Linked DNA regions of Homo sapiens: regions 1, 3 and 4 are each linked to region 2. Evidence: promoter capture Hi-C in 16 types of primary human blood cells and fetal thymus (Javierre and others, 2016). All regions are on one chromosome and are shown on one strand. The core of a region is centred on a gene start or on the middle of the fragment in contact, and the rest is flanking DNA. Distances in the headings are between cores, read along the strand shown.

What was found. Contacts are between HindIII fragments. The CHiCAGO score rates a contact against its expected background, and 5 or more counts as called.
Region 1: a contact is called between a fragment that was not itself captured here and the fragment with the promoter of LMOD3 in region 2, in 1 of 17 cell types (endothelial precursors). The highest score is 5.4, in endothelial precursors.
Region 3: a contact is called between a fragment that was not itself captured here and the fragment with the promoter of LMOD3 in region 2, in 1 of 17 cell types (monocytes). The highest score is 5.8, in monocytes.
Region 4: a contact is called between the fragment with the promoter of MITF here and the fragment with the promoter of LMOD3 in region 2, in 3 of 17 cell types (fetal thymus, M1 macrophages and monocytes). The highest score is 6.0, in fetal thymus.

Annotation. Positions count from the first base shown.
Region 1 is chr3:69,652,423-69,655,122 of GRCh38, forward strand. No RefSeq gene overlaps it. Among named protein-coding and RNA genes, the nearest start is that of MITF, 86 kb to the right of the region's middle. The HindIII fragment of the contact is 2,685 bases long and covers 1-2,625 here.
Region 2 is chr3:69,121,094-69,124,005 of GRCh38, forward strand. LMOD3 (leiomodin 3) reads right to left here and starts at 1,502. Exons shown (of 3, transcript NM_198271.5): 1 at 1,000-1,502. The coding sequence starts at 1,293. RefSeq lists an enhancer at 357-1,556. The HindIII fragment of the contact is 5,880 bases long and covers 1-2,912 here.
Region 3 is chr3:69,840,092-69,843,080 of GRCh38, forward strand. All of the region lies in intron 1 of MITF (melanocyte inducing transcription factor), which reads left to right. Among named protein-coding and RNA genes, the nearest start is that of MITF, 100 kb to the left of the region's middle. The HindIII fragment of the contact is 886 bases long and covers 1,018-1,903 here.
Region 4 is chr3:69,737,888-69,740,989 of GRCh38, forward strand. It overlaps MITF (melanocyte inducing transcription factor), which reads left to right and starts at 1,577. Exons shown (of 10, transcript NM_001354604.2): 1 at 1,577-1,814. The coding sequence starts at 1,711. RefSeq lists a promoter at 1-1,713 and a silencer at 1,513-1,812. The HindIII fragment of the contact is 10,451 bases long and covers 1-3,102 here.

The DNA of each region.
Region 1 (2,700 bases), core at 33-2,532, 530 kb after region 2:
CAAGGTGCCATCTTGAAAGCAGAGAGCAACCCTCACCAGACAGCAATGCCAGTGCCTCAATCTGGTACTTCCATCCTCTAGAACTGTGAGAAACAAATTTTGATTCTTAATAAATTCCTCAGTCCTTGGCATTTTGTTATAATAATGCGAATGGACTAAGACAACCTCATATGACTCTTTCACCTACCCTGCAAATGAGGCAGTTGTATGCCCTTTTGATAAGGCTAGGAAATTGTGGGTTCAGAGAGACAAAACTTTTCCCAAGAGACACATAATGTTCTCTAAGATTGTACAGCCAGTATGACATAGACCTGGGATTCAAATCTAAGATTAGATTTTAAGTGCAATTTATGTGTCTCTTCAGTGGCCAAATATCTGCACTTGCTTCTTCTGGTTAAACATAATTTGCTGTCTGACATCCTTATCTCAGCCACTGACCCCTGAGTCATCTCCCTTCTCTATCCCCTTTCTCACTGCCAACATGTAATGGGCTTGCAAGATGGAATGCCTCCCCTACTACCTGTCCCTTCTAGGGAATCCCTACCCTTAAATATTCTTTATGCAGGAATTCAAAACTACATGTTGACCAGATAATCCCAATCATGGATTGGGAATAGACAGTTCATCTAAGAGTAGCCAACCAATAGCAGGCTGGCAACCTGTGGGGTGAGCTACTGTGAAGCCTCATGCATTGCCATGTGCTGTGGCTCAGGCCTATAATTCCAGTTACTCAGGAGGCTGAGGTAGAAATGCTTGAGCCCAGGAGTTCAAGGCTGCAGTGACCTATGATCATCCCACTGCTCTCCAGCCTGGGCAACAGAGCAAGACCCAACTCTTTAAAAAAAAAAAAAAAGGCCAGGTGCAGTGACTCATGCCTGTAATCCCAGCACTTTGCGAGGCCGAGGTAGGTGGATCACCTGAGGTCAGGAGTTTGAGACCAGCCTGACCAACATGGTGAAACCCTGTCTCTACCAAAAATACAAAAATTAGCTGGGCATGGTGGGACGCAACTGTAGTCCCAGCTTCTCCGGATGCTGAGGCAGGAGAATCGCTTGAACCCCGGAGGTGGAGGTTGCACTGAGCCGAAATTGTGCCACTGCATTCCAGCCTGGGCAACAGAGTGAGACCCTATCTTAAAAAAAAAAAAAAAAGAAAGTTTGATGTAGGCAGATATGATGGTTACTAATAAGTTTCATTCTCTTTCTTTTACTTTCTACCCCACCCCATCCCTAGGGATTCAAATGATATGAAATAGTAAGATACAGAGATGGTGTTGCTAGTCACTTTTAGGAACAGAAACACAAAGATGTCCAGAGAAAGGCCATAAAGAATTTGGGGTCATGAGGAAAGCAAAGGTATGAGTTAGCAGAGGCTATGGAATGATGGGCATAGAAGGAAGTTCAGTATAACAGCAAGAGATCCATCTGTTTCCGTTGCTGATGGTACAGCTGACTGCCTTAAATCCTAAATAAGCTGTCCATGACACCTGAGAAATCCTATCCCAACACTGGGATTCCTACTCTTTTGGTGCTTACCTTTACTTTCACTTAAATCTGATTACTTGGAGTAATATGTTGAGTTTGTGGGATTATCCATGATTGCATTCACAGATCTAAACAGACAGTGGAACCTAAAGAAAAAAAAAATCCAGGGCAAAAGGAAGGTGACTCCCAACTTGAGAAAAATTTTTATTTTTTCCATTCAGCTCTATTCAGAATGCTAAAACATAAATATAAATCTAGATAGAGAAACATTTCCTAACGTTAAGTTAAACAGATCCCTGGAGTTGACAGAGAACATTAACCTACTCCAAATCTTTACCTAATCCATTAATCTCACATAAACACCCAACAAGTCTTCTTGTCTGTGTTTGAATACTTCACCAATGAGGATCTCCCTCTTGTGCTATAATTGCCAGGAGGTTTCAATACCTAAAACTTTTGCCTAACAAGCAACTAAGATAAAAACAACATAACACAGAATAACATATTTCTAACACTTCCAAACGACAAATATTTCTTTATTGTGCTTGGCATGAGAGTGAGCAAGACAGGTGGAAATCCTGTCTTTCTGGGGTTTACATCAGCCTTTTCAAATTTTTATTTTGAAAAATTTTGAACATACAGAATAGTAGAGAGAATAGTGTGATGAACACTTATGTTCCATTATCCAATTCAACAATTAAGAATGCACAGCTCTTTCTGTTTCATTTTTATGCCTTTTCCCCTAAGTCTCCCTACCACCCTGCTGAATTATTTTAAGATAAATCCCAGGTGTCATATCATTTCGGCATGTGTTTCTAACAGATAATGACTCTTTTTTCTTCATGTAACCACAATATTGTTATTCACACTTGAAAACATTTAACAGTGATTTTTTAATATCATCTAATTTCCAGTCAGTTTTTTTCTTCAAATTTTTCTTTTTGTATTAAAAATATCTTTTTACAGTTGGTTTGTTTGGAGTTTTACATTACAATGAAACATGCTCTTTGAACAAAAACACAGCTAAATCTTGATATTTTATTCCATATATGTAGTTAAACCTACCTGGAAGACTACCGATTCTATAAAATGTATAGATTTAAACAAAACCAGTAGCTATTTTTTTTCCTCTACTTTCAGAAGCTTATCTTCTAGAGGATTTTTTATTTTTTATTTATTTTTATTTATTTATTTATTTTTTGAGGCGGAGTCTCGC
Region 2 (2,912 bases), core at 252-2,751:
TCAAGTTATACCAGAGGAAGGAAAAACATGTTGCAAGTACTCGTTTTTACCCCCTGAAACTGGCATTCACATAGAATTGGCTTTTCATCCATTGATCTCCAGTTGTAAAAAATCTGCAAATTGTACCTTGAACTCTAACCTGATCAATCCAGCTGTTTCTTTTCTTAATCTTAGCACATGTTTAAACTCTACTGACTGTAAAACCAATTGACAACTTTCCTTAATTACAGCCAGCTTCAGAGTAATTTAACAAGATGTATCTTTGTAAACAGGCATAACCTAAAGAGACTTTACCTAGGAGGCATCTCTGTCCTCTTTTTGTTAAGTCATTTTCAAGTGGAACATAAAAAAAAAAATTATGCTCATGCACAGTAAGTTTGCAGAGTTAACAATTCTAGCTTTCAGGTTTTAGAAAGTGAAGAACTAGCTTCAAAACCACTTAATAGCCATCGATTTCTAAATGTCATCACTGACAGCCAATACATAGTAATAATATAAGACATTTTCTGGTTATTCGACTTGGTTTAATTGCAGGTTGTGTGGCCAGACTTCAGGAGGACTGAAATGTTTGACACTGTGTGCGAAACACTGCGTATGTTTGGATGTGCCAGAGAGACAGAGGCTACAGAGCTGTCATTACTTTCTCAAAGGGGCCTGCAATAAAAAAGAAAGAGAGAGGTAAGGACAACTGCCTCTGGGTTATGAGTTAAGTCACTAAGTATCGTGGCAATAGAACACAGGCTTTCTGACACAGCAAACCCGACAGCAATTTTTAAAAAGAGACATTTGCAAGAAATTACCCAATTTTCCCCTTGTAAATATAAATGTGTTTCAGAAAGTTCCAGTCGGAGTAGGATTAAATATTATGGTTTAATCTAGATATGGCAAAAACAAAGCAGAACCAAACCCTGGAGTCTTGAGAAATCACAGTTACAACAGAGAGACCTAACAGCCCATCCCAGGCAGCCATTTCTCGGTTGTACACAAATCTCTGGTTACCTCGGATTTCACAAAGGTGACAGGAACTCGTTCCTCTTCCAGCATGCGCCTGGATGCCTTTTCCCAATACATATAATCAACAAGAGATTTATGATTGAAGTTTCCTGTCGGTGGCTTGTCAGTTTGATCTTTCTGAATCATTCCCACGGGAAGGCTGGGGTCAGGGGCCATGACTTCCATTTCCGACTGCAGTTCTTTCAGTTCTTCAGCAGACAAGTTGGCCAAGATTTCATCTTCATTAATCTCCTCATCGAGAAGTTCTTCTTGATCTGAATTTCTGCTGTGCTCTGACATTATTTTTTCTAAATATTATTTTACTAGAAAAGAAGAATAATCAAAGATGATTTTTAAAAAGAAGGAAAAAAGCCTCAAGAAGGTCCCCCAGTTAACGAGTGTCCCAAGTTAACACACCCTTGAGATATTTTTTTTTTTTTCCCAGGAACCTCAGTGGTTTGCTGAGCAGCTAGGAGTGATCACAGCTAAGCTCTTGCCGGATCTATATTAAGCAGGGCTTGGCTGGATGGGGTCAATTTATGGAACAACTATGCTGCTCTCTTTTTGGCAACTTGAGTCAGCTGCGCAAATCCATCTGACATTTCAGTACAGCTGCTATGTTTGCCAGAGACTAGCAGAGACTACAGAATCTCTGCAGGAATAAAATTAATTATCTTCCTATATGCCATCATATTGCCATACACAAATTCATGCAGCTCATACATACATACCCCAATACTCCAGGGGATTCCACTTGTTTTTATTTAAATATTAAAGCAACTTACAATATTTCAGAAGGGAAATCCAACCAGCAACCTGAGTTGTTTCTGAAGTAAAGAATTCACTTGAAGGTAGAAATCAAGCTCTTAGGGTCTGCCTCTTCCCTACAAGGTGAGTGTGGAAGCAAATAAAGTGGTGCACAGTGGAACAGAGGTCTTGCTATGTCACTCATCCTCTGTGTAAGCCGAACCTTTGCAAGATGTCCTGTTTGCATCTAGATCCTGTGATCTAACAGATGGGGACAACCAGCACTTGGATTTCCACTATAAGTGAGTTTAATATTTTAAATTATTTGCTTTTCTTATTAAGTATCCATTAAGCCAATATCAATGAAAATGGCTCTAAAGTGAAGTGTTAAAAAAGAAATCCAGACCACTAATATACTAAAAGAAACTATGAGAAGATTTTGTTTTCAAACCCTGAAGGGGCAATATGCAACATTTGTCCAAATTACAAATGCCCATTTCCTTTGACCCAGCAATTCCACTTTGAGAAGTGTATCCTACAGATATACCCCTACATGGGTGAAACAACGTGTGTACAAGGTTACACAATATAGCAAAGTACAAAACAGTGTGTTTTACATGCCATTATTTGTGTGACAAAGGGTACAATAATATATAATATACAAGTTTTATTATATATATATTTAAGACAGGGTCTGGCTCTGTCACCCAGGCTGGAGGGCAGTGCTGCGATCTCAGCTCACTGCAACCTCTGCCTCCCAGGATCAAGCTGGGACCACAGGCATGCACCACTACACCCAGCTAATTGTATTTTTTGTAGAGACAGGGTTTTGCCATATTGCTCAGGCTGGTCTCGAATTTCTGAGTTCAAGCAATCCACCTGCCTCGGTGTCCCAAAGTTCTGGGATTACAGGCGTGAGCCACCGTGCCTGGCTCGTAAATATATTCTTATTCCGAAATATACATTCATTGTACAAGAGTTAGGATAACATAGAAAGGCACAGAACAAAATCTTCCCCTTACCTCACTGTGAAGCTACCACTATTAACATTTCAGTTTTTTCATTCCAGTCCTTTCTTTTAGGCATACAAACTCTATCATTTTTTCTCATCTGTTTTTTTGACTGAGAAAGTCAGGATTCTTTTTTTCTAGGCAACTGTGTACTCTACTACT
Region 3 (2,989 bases), core at 211-2,710, 720 kb after region 2:
GAGATGATACTATAAAGAGACATCTCTGTTGCTAAGGGTCAGTCCAGACCACACTCCTAGACCTTACTTCTGGTCCTCCTTGCAAGGGTGGTCATCTGTCCTCTGCTGTGAGATCTTCTTTGGTAGAAATGTGATGGGGTTTGCTTTCACCCCTTCTCAAAAGGCTGTGCCAGGAACACTTCTATGGGCACAATAAGGTGAACCACTGTGAGGTTTGAGAAAATTAATTGCCCGGGGTGAGCTGGAACACTTAATCCATCGTGTCACATATACACAGAGGTCTTTGAAAGGGACAGGAGTCTTGATGGAAGGCTCAGCTACCATCCAGACATTGTTAGAATAAGAAGACAATTGCTCCTTTCAATGAGAGAAAGGGAAGAATAAAATGTGATGGAGATTGGCACCTCGGAAAGGGAAGAATAAAATGTGGTGGAGATTGGCACCTCTTCTGCCATTCTTTAACCTCCATAATGACTTACCAAAGAGCTTTTTTTAAAAAAAGAGATCGACAGGAAAATTAATTATCAATGATTTCAGAGCAGATTATTAGATATGTGAATTATCCAGCCTCTTTGGATTTTGTCCTGTTGTCATCATTTGTCAGTATTTCTCAACATGTCATCGAAAGGTGATTCAGGATGAAGCACAAAACTGTTTTTTTCTCTTTTTTTTTTTTTTTTGAAACAGAATCTCACTCTGTCACCTAGGCTGGAGTGCAGTGCTGCGATCTCAGCTCACTGCAACCTCTCTGCCTTCTAGGTTCAAGCAATTCCCGTGCCTCACCCTTCCGAGTAACTGGGATTACAGGTACATGCCACCATGCCCAGCTAAGTTTTGCATTTTTAGTAGAGATGGGGGTTCACCATGTTGGCCAAGCTGGTCTTGAACTCCTGGCCTCAAGGGACCCACCCACCTTGGCCTCCCAAAGTGCTGGAATTATGGGTGTGAGCCACCACACCAGGCCTCTAAACTGCTTTTTACTCCTAGTTGTGTGTTGCCAGTTCAGAAACTTAATTAAGCTTATGGAATGACAGACATATTTCACCTTTTAGTAGATGAGAATACATTCAAGACTAGGCTTAAGTACATATATCTTCGATGTAATTTATTAAACCCTTAAATCCATATTCACACATACAAAATAATCAGATCTTAAAATAATTATTGGAAGAAAGAAGAGGGAAAAATAGTAGGCAATCTTCATGACACTTTAATGTGTATGTTTACTGCTTAAAATGTTCAAACACATCTTTGTTTTGTATAGTTAATTTTGGTGGTATAATATTTGAAAAGGTGATAGATAAAAAGTGCAGGATGCAATTCTTGAAGCTGTAATTTGCAGGACACTAATAATACAAGTCCATTTTCTTTTCTGAGTGTGCTATTTATACAATTTATATTTTTAACAAATCTTAGAACTGGAATGAAAATAGTAATTCATCTTAAGGGTAAGAAAGGTTGCAGCTGTGCCAAATTTGGAAACTTTAATCAGTCCTCTTAGTGCTTAAGCACAGACTATGGAATATTCTAATTTGTATGTCACAGAGCACAGTGCTCAGCAGAAAGCATGCACTATCTTAAATTAATGTTAATTAATTAATGTTAAATGATTGAGTCAATTTGGCAGTACTTCTTTTCGTCTCTGAAAAGAAATCATATTTAATTTAGAAGTGGCAGGTCAATTTTAAAGCCAAGCTAAAATAAGTAGGTCAAGTGAAATTGTGCACAGGGCAGGGATAGTGGTGTTATATGTACGAAGAAAAAAGACTGAAAGGAAAAATATCAAAATGTTTACCTGTGAAGATGATGAATAATTTGTTTTTTATATATTTTTGTTTGCCTTTAGTTTACCACAGTGGGCAAATACATTCTTCGGAGCAGTATACTTTCATGACATATGTTAAGCTTTACATAACTCTTTGTTAAATCTCCCGTTGATGAATTAATAGTAAACATGATACCTATCAAATATGAAGTGAGCGGTGTCCTCTGTAGTTGGGCAGCATAGTAGCTTTGAGTGGAACTTACATTCTAGCAAAATTCATTTTTTCAAATAAGATTTTATGTAAAATCCAAGTATAGTCAGTTCTGCTATAACACAACATATGTGTTTCTAAAAAATCATCAGGCTACTCCAAAATCATGCAGTAGACAACACACGATGTATAGGAAAAATGGGGCTAGGAGCACAATGCTAAAAAATTTCATCAGTGACATCTGAAAAAAGAAAAGATAGGAAGCTAATAAACACAGTAGACAGATTTATACCCTTTAATTTAAGCGATACATTAATACAACAACAAACTTGTTACTTTGCTTTGAATAACACCTGGATTTTGCTTGTAGAAGTGGCTTCAGAAGAGTTGCAGCTGGTGAGTTATTATGCAGTGGTAGAAGGAAGCTTATCTGAAACTGGATCAAAAATTATAGCATCAGAAGTGAATGAGTGTGATGCATAACACTCTTAGTAAACGGAGGTAGCCGGTAGATGTTTGAAGTGTGTGCTTGGTGCAGCTGGGTGCAGTTTTCAGGGTGTTCACCTACTGTTTCTTGAAGACAGAATCACGCACAAGCAAACCAAAATTCTTGGGGGATATGCTCAAGTTGTTTACTGTGTAACAAATTTGCATTTCCAAAATCAACGTGATGGCAGAACTGACTGAGATGGATGAAAAAAAGCTGCACTAGCTCTAGGTATGTCAGGAGCCCAGTGTGGAACCCAACCTCCCCATCACCACCCCAGGGGTTCCACAGAGCACTGCTGTGTGGTGTAAACTTTATTTTGTTTGTTTGTTTGTTTGTGACCTGGAACAGACACAGAAAGTTATTTTTCTTGTGGAGAGTTTCGGTCCTACCTACATATCCTTCCCTGGCTGGAGTCTGGAGGTGTGCCAAGGGCTTTGGCATTGACAACTTTCAGTTCCACTGCCAGATGGGCTGTCCAGTAAAGCAAATGGCCTTGAACTGAAAACCCTATAGAATACCTCGC
Region 4 (3,102 bases), core at 327-2,826, 620 kb after region 2:
AGGGGTGTTCTCAGGTATTCTGACATAGTTTAATAGTTTCAGGGGAGGGCCTAAAAGTCGTATGTTGGGGACTAATTTTTATTCTGAAAATTTGGTAATTGCTACTGCAACATAGTGTGCCTTCTGCACTTTTTCCAAATCACCTTGAGAACTCCAGCCCTAACATCGATCCATCCTACTGGATGTCTTTTCTGATGTGAAATTAAAATGTTTCAGTGGGAGGCAAGATATGCAAAGGGGTAACTCCTGGGAGGTGCCCAGTTGTCACTGTAGCCTCTTTAGAATTTTCTCCTAGGACAGTCATTTAGTTTATTAATTCTGAAAGGCCAAACACCAAAATGAGATGTTAATCTGAAAGGAATAACTTCAAGACCTAATAAAGAATGACCACTGAGCAGAGTTTTTATAGATTGCAAATCACTTTCTCTTACATTTGACCTTGCAACATCTTCTAAAACTGGTTTGCCAATCTCTTCTTTTATGGATGAAGAAATGGAGGCTTCTAGGAACCAAGTGACATGCTCAGGATTGCACAGCTCTTCTTAGAAGGACTGGGGATTTCAACTCTGAGTCTTATACCTTTAAATGCCACTGTAACTCTATACTGCCTCCCTGATGCCTCAAAACACTTTTGAAAAGAAGGAACACGTCCTACTGGAGCTAATCAGAGGGAAGAACTAGAAGTACAAATGAGCCACAACGGAGAGTTTTAAAATTCTCTTCCCTAAGTGAGTTCCGGGAAGCTCGGGAAGGGGTGGACACTTGTACAGTTCACTTGTACATCTTCACTCCTGAAATGCTAGGACAAATCTCATTTGAACTCCCAGTCAACTGAGAAATTAAAAGCAGAGAGCAACGACGCTATTTTGTAACTTTGTGCCTTTTAAAATTAACCGAATCTTTCAATTGCTGCTGTAGATTAGAAGTGGCTACTTGGATAAAGGGGAAAGAGCCATTCAACTGATGAATACTATTGTAAAAGTCCAGACTTAGTTCTAGAAAAGGAACGCACAAGAACAATTTCTCCAATAACGTTTTCATTACAGAGCGAAGGAAAGTTCTTCCTCGTTGTTCCAATCCGAGGACAAGCTGATATGTCGCAGCAGCCCAGGGAAGCATGCGAGCTGATAGGAAGTCCTTTTATTTTAAGACAGGCTCGAATGCTAAAACTTTCTTGTGCCAAAACCCTTGACTATTTTATTTTTAAAATAAGCACTTGGCGTGCCCTCGCAGATGTCTGAGCTGAGAGGTCGGGGCGATGGTAGAAGAGCAGTCAGTGTCCATTCTTATTCATATTAAGTAGCCAAGTCTGTACCCTTGAAGCAAGTGGGGAGAGAGGAGGGAGAGGAGCTGCTGACATTGACAATGAATCCAAACAGGAGTTGCACTAGCGGTGTCCACCACGTTGCCTCTCCCCCGCCTGGCCTTCTGGGAGCTGTAGTTTTCGTGGGAGCGGCTCCCCAGGCGAGCTGGGAATGCCCCGCCCGGGCCGAACTACAGATCCCAGGCGGCGCTCGGCCGCCAGCCCCTCCCGCCCGGGTGCGAGTGTAAACTCCCCGCGCTGGGGCGGGCGGCCGCGAGCCGGCGAGCGGGCAGAGCTCGGCACTGCGCCGGGGCGCACGGCTCGGGGGACCCAGGCCCAGCTACCTTCCCTCCGCCCCCGGGCTCTGTTCTCACTTTCCAGCAGTGGAAGGACGGGAAGCGGGAGCCATGCAGTCCGAATCGGGGATCGTGCCGGATTTCGAAGTCGGGGAGGAGTTTCATGAAGAGCCCAAAACCTATTACGAACTCAAAAGTCAACCGCTGAAGAGCAGGTGAGTGGTGACAGCTGGGCAGAGGCGCACCGGGCGGCTGGGGGGCACTGCGTCTGCCACTCTGGGGCGAGGAGAGCGGGTCGCGGGAGCTCTGGGACAAGGACCCAGTGCCCTTGCCCCGGAGCAGAGGGCGAACTGCCCCTCGCAGTTGGGGGCCGCGCCTGCCCGGCCCAAGTGCGCCTTTAGGAAGCTCGGATGGAGCGCACTTCGCGGGGGCGCGGCGGGTCGCCGGGGACGAAGCGTCCAGGCGCGGGGACCCTCGGCCGAGGATGCCAGCTGCTGAGACTGATTGGGGGCTGGGGAGCGACCTGGCGCGATGTGGGGGAGGAGGAGCGCCGGGCCGGGACGCTGTCCCGGTGGGATGGGGGAGAAAGAGTTCTAGTGAACCCCCTTTCTGAAGATCCCAGCGGGTTGAGGGCTCGGAGAGGGAGAGCTTTGGGTGGACTGAGATGCGACATTGGAGGGAAGCAATTAGTTCGCTTGGAGTCACCTCTTGGGAGTCCGGTCTCTGTGGGGAAACTAGCCTCTGGGCTCCTGCAGGTGAGGTTTCTCTGGGCTCCGCCTCTCACCTCCAGACCGCTGCTAGCGGGCGCGGGAGGGGCCAGGGCAGCGGTGGGCGTGTCCCCTTGTTCAAGTTAAACTCTCTGGAAATAGAGTCCCATTCAAATCCAGGCCTTACCTGCAGAGGGGAAATGAGCCTTGGTCTTGGGGGTTACTGGGAGTGTACCCCGCTTGGCAGAGACACGTGTTTAATTCGCTGGGGACTTCAGAAACTTTTTAGACGAGGAGTGAAGACATCCACTGCTCTGATGCCCCATCCCCTCTAGTGCCCACTTCCCTTGAGCCACCCTTTTTGCTGCCTCCATTCCCACTTGTCTGTCGAAATGGATTGGGTGTCTTCCGTTCTCTCTGTCCGGCAGCCACTCTGGACGCCTCGTACTTCTCGTTTACAATGTTTCCTAAAAGGGACATGGTCAATGGAGGCTGGAATAGCTGAGAAGGGTTTATTTCCACCCCTCTAAGCTGTGAGCTAGGATAAGGCTATCATTGGAAGCATCCAGCAGGGCTTCTGCACTCGGCTGTAACTTCCTGCCTTGCCCTTCGCTGTGGATGGGGCCTGGGTGAATGGGCCTGGCTGGCAGAGTGGGAGAGGGTCTTGAAATGAGGGTGAGTGGAGAAGGGCAACTGAACGGGGAGCCAAGTGGTGTAATCTTGGCCTCTGGCGAGCACTGGGCTGGTTCTTTTTCTAGTGGAAAGTGCAGCCAGGTTTATTTCCTTCAGGGCTGTG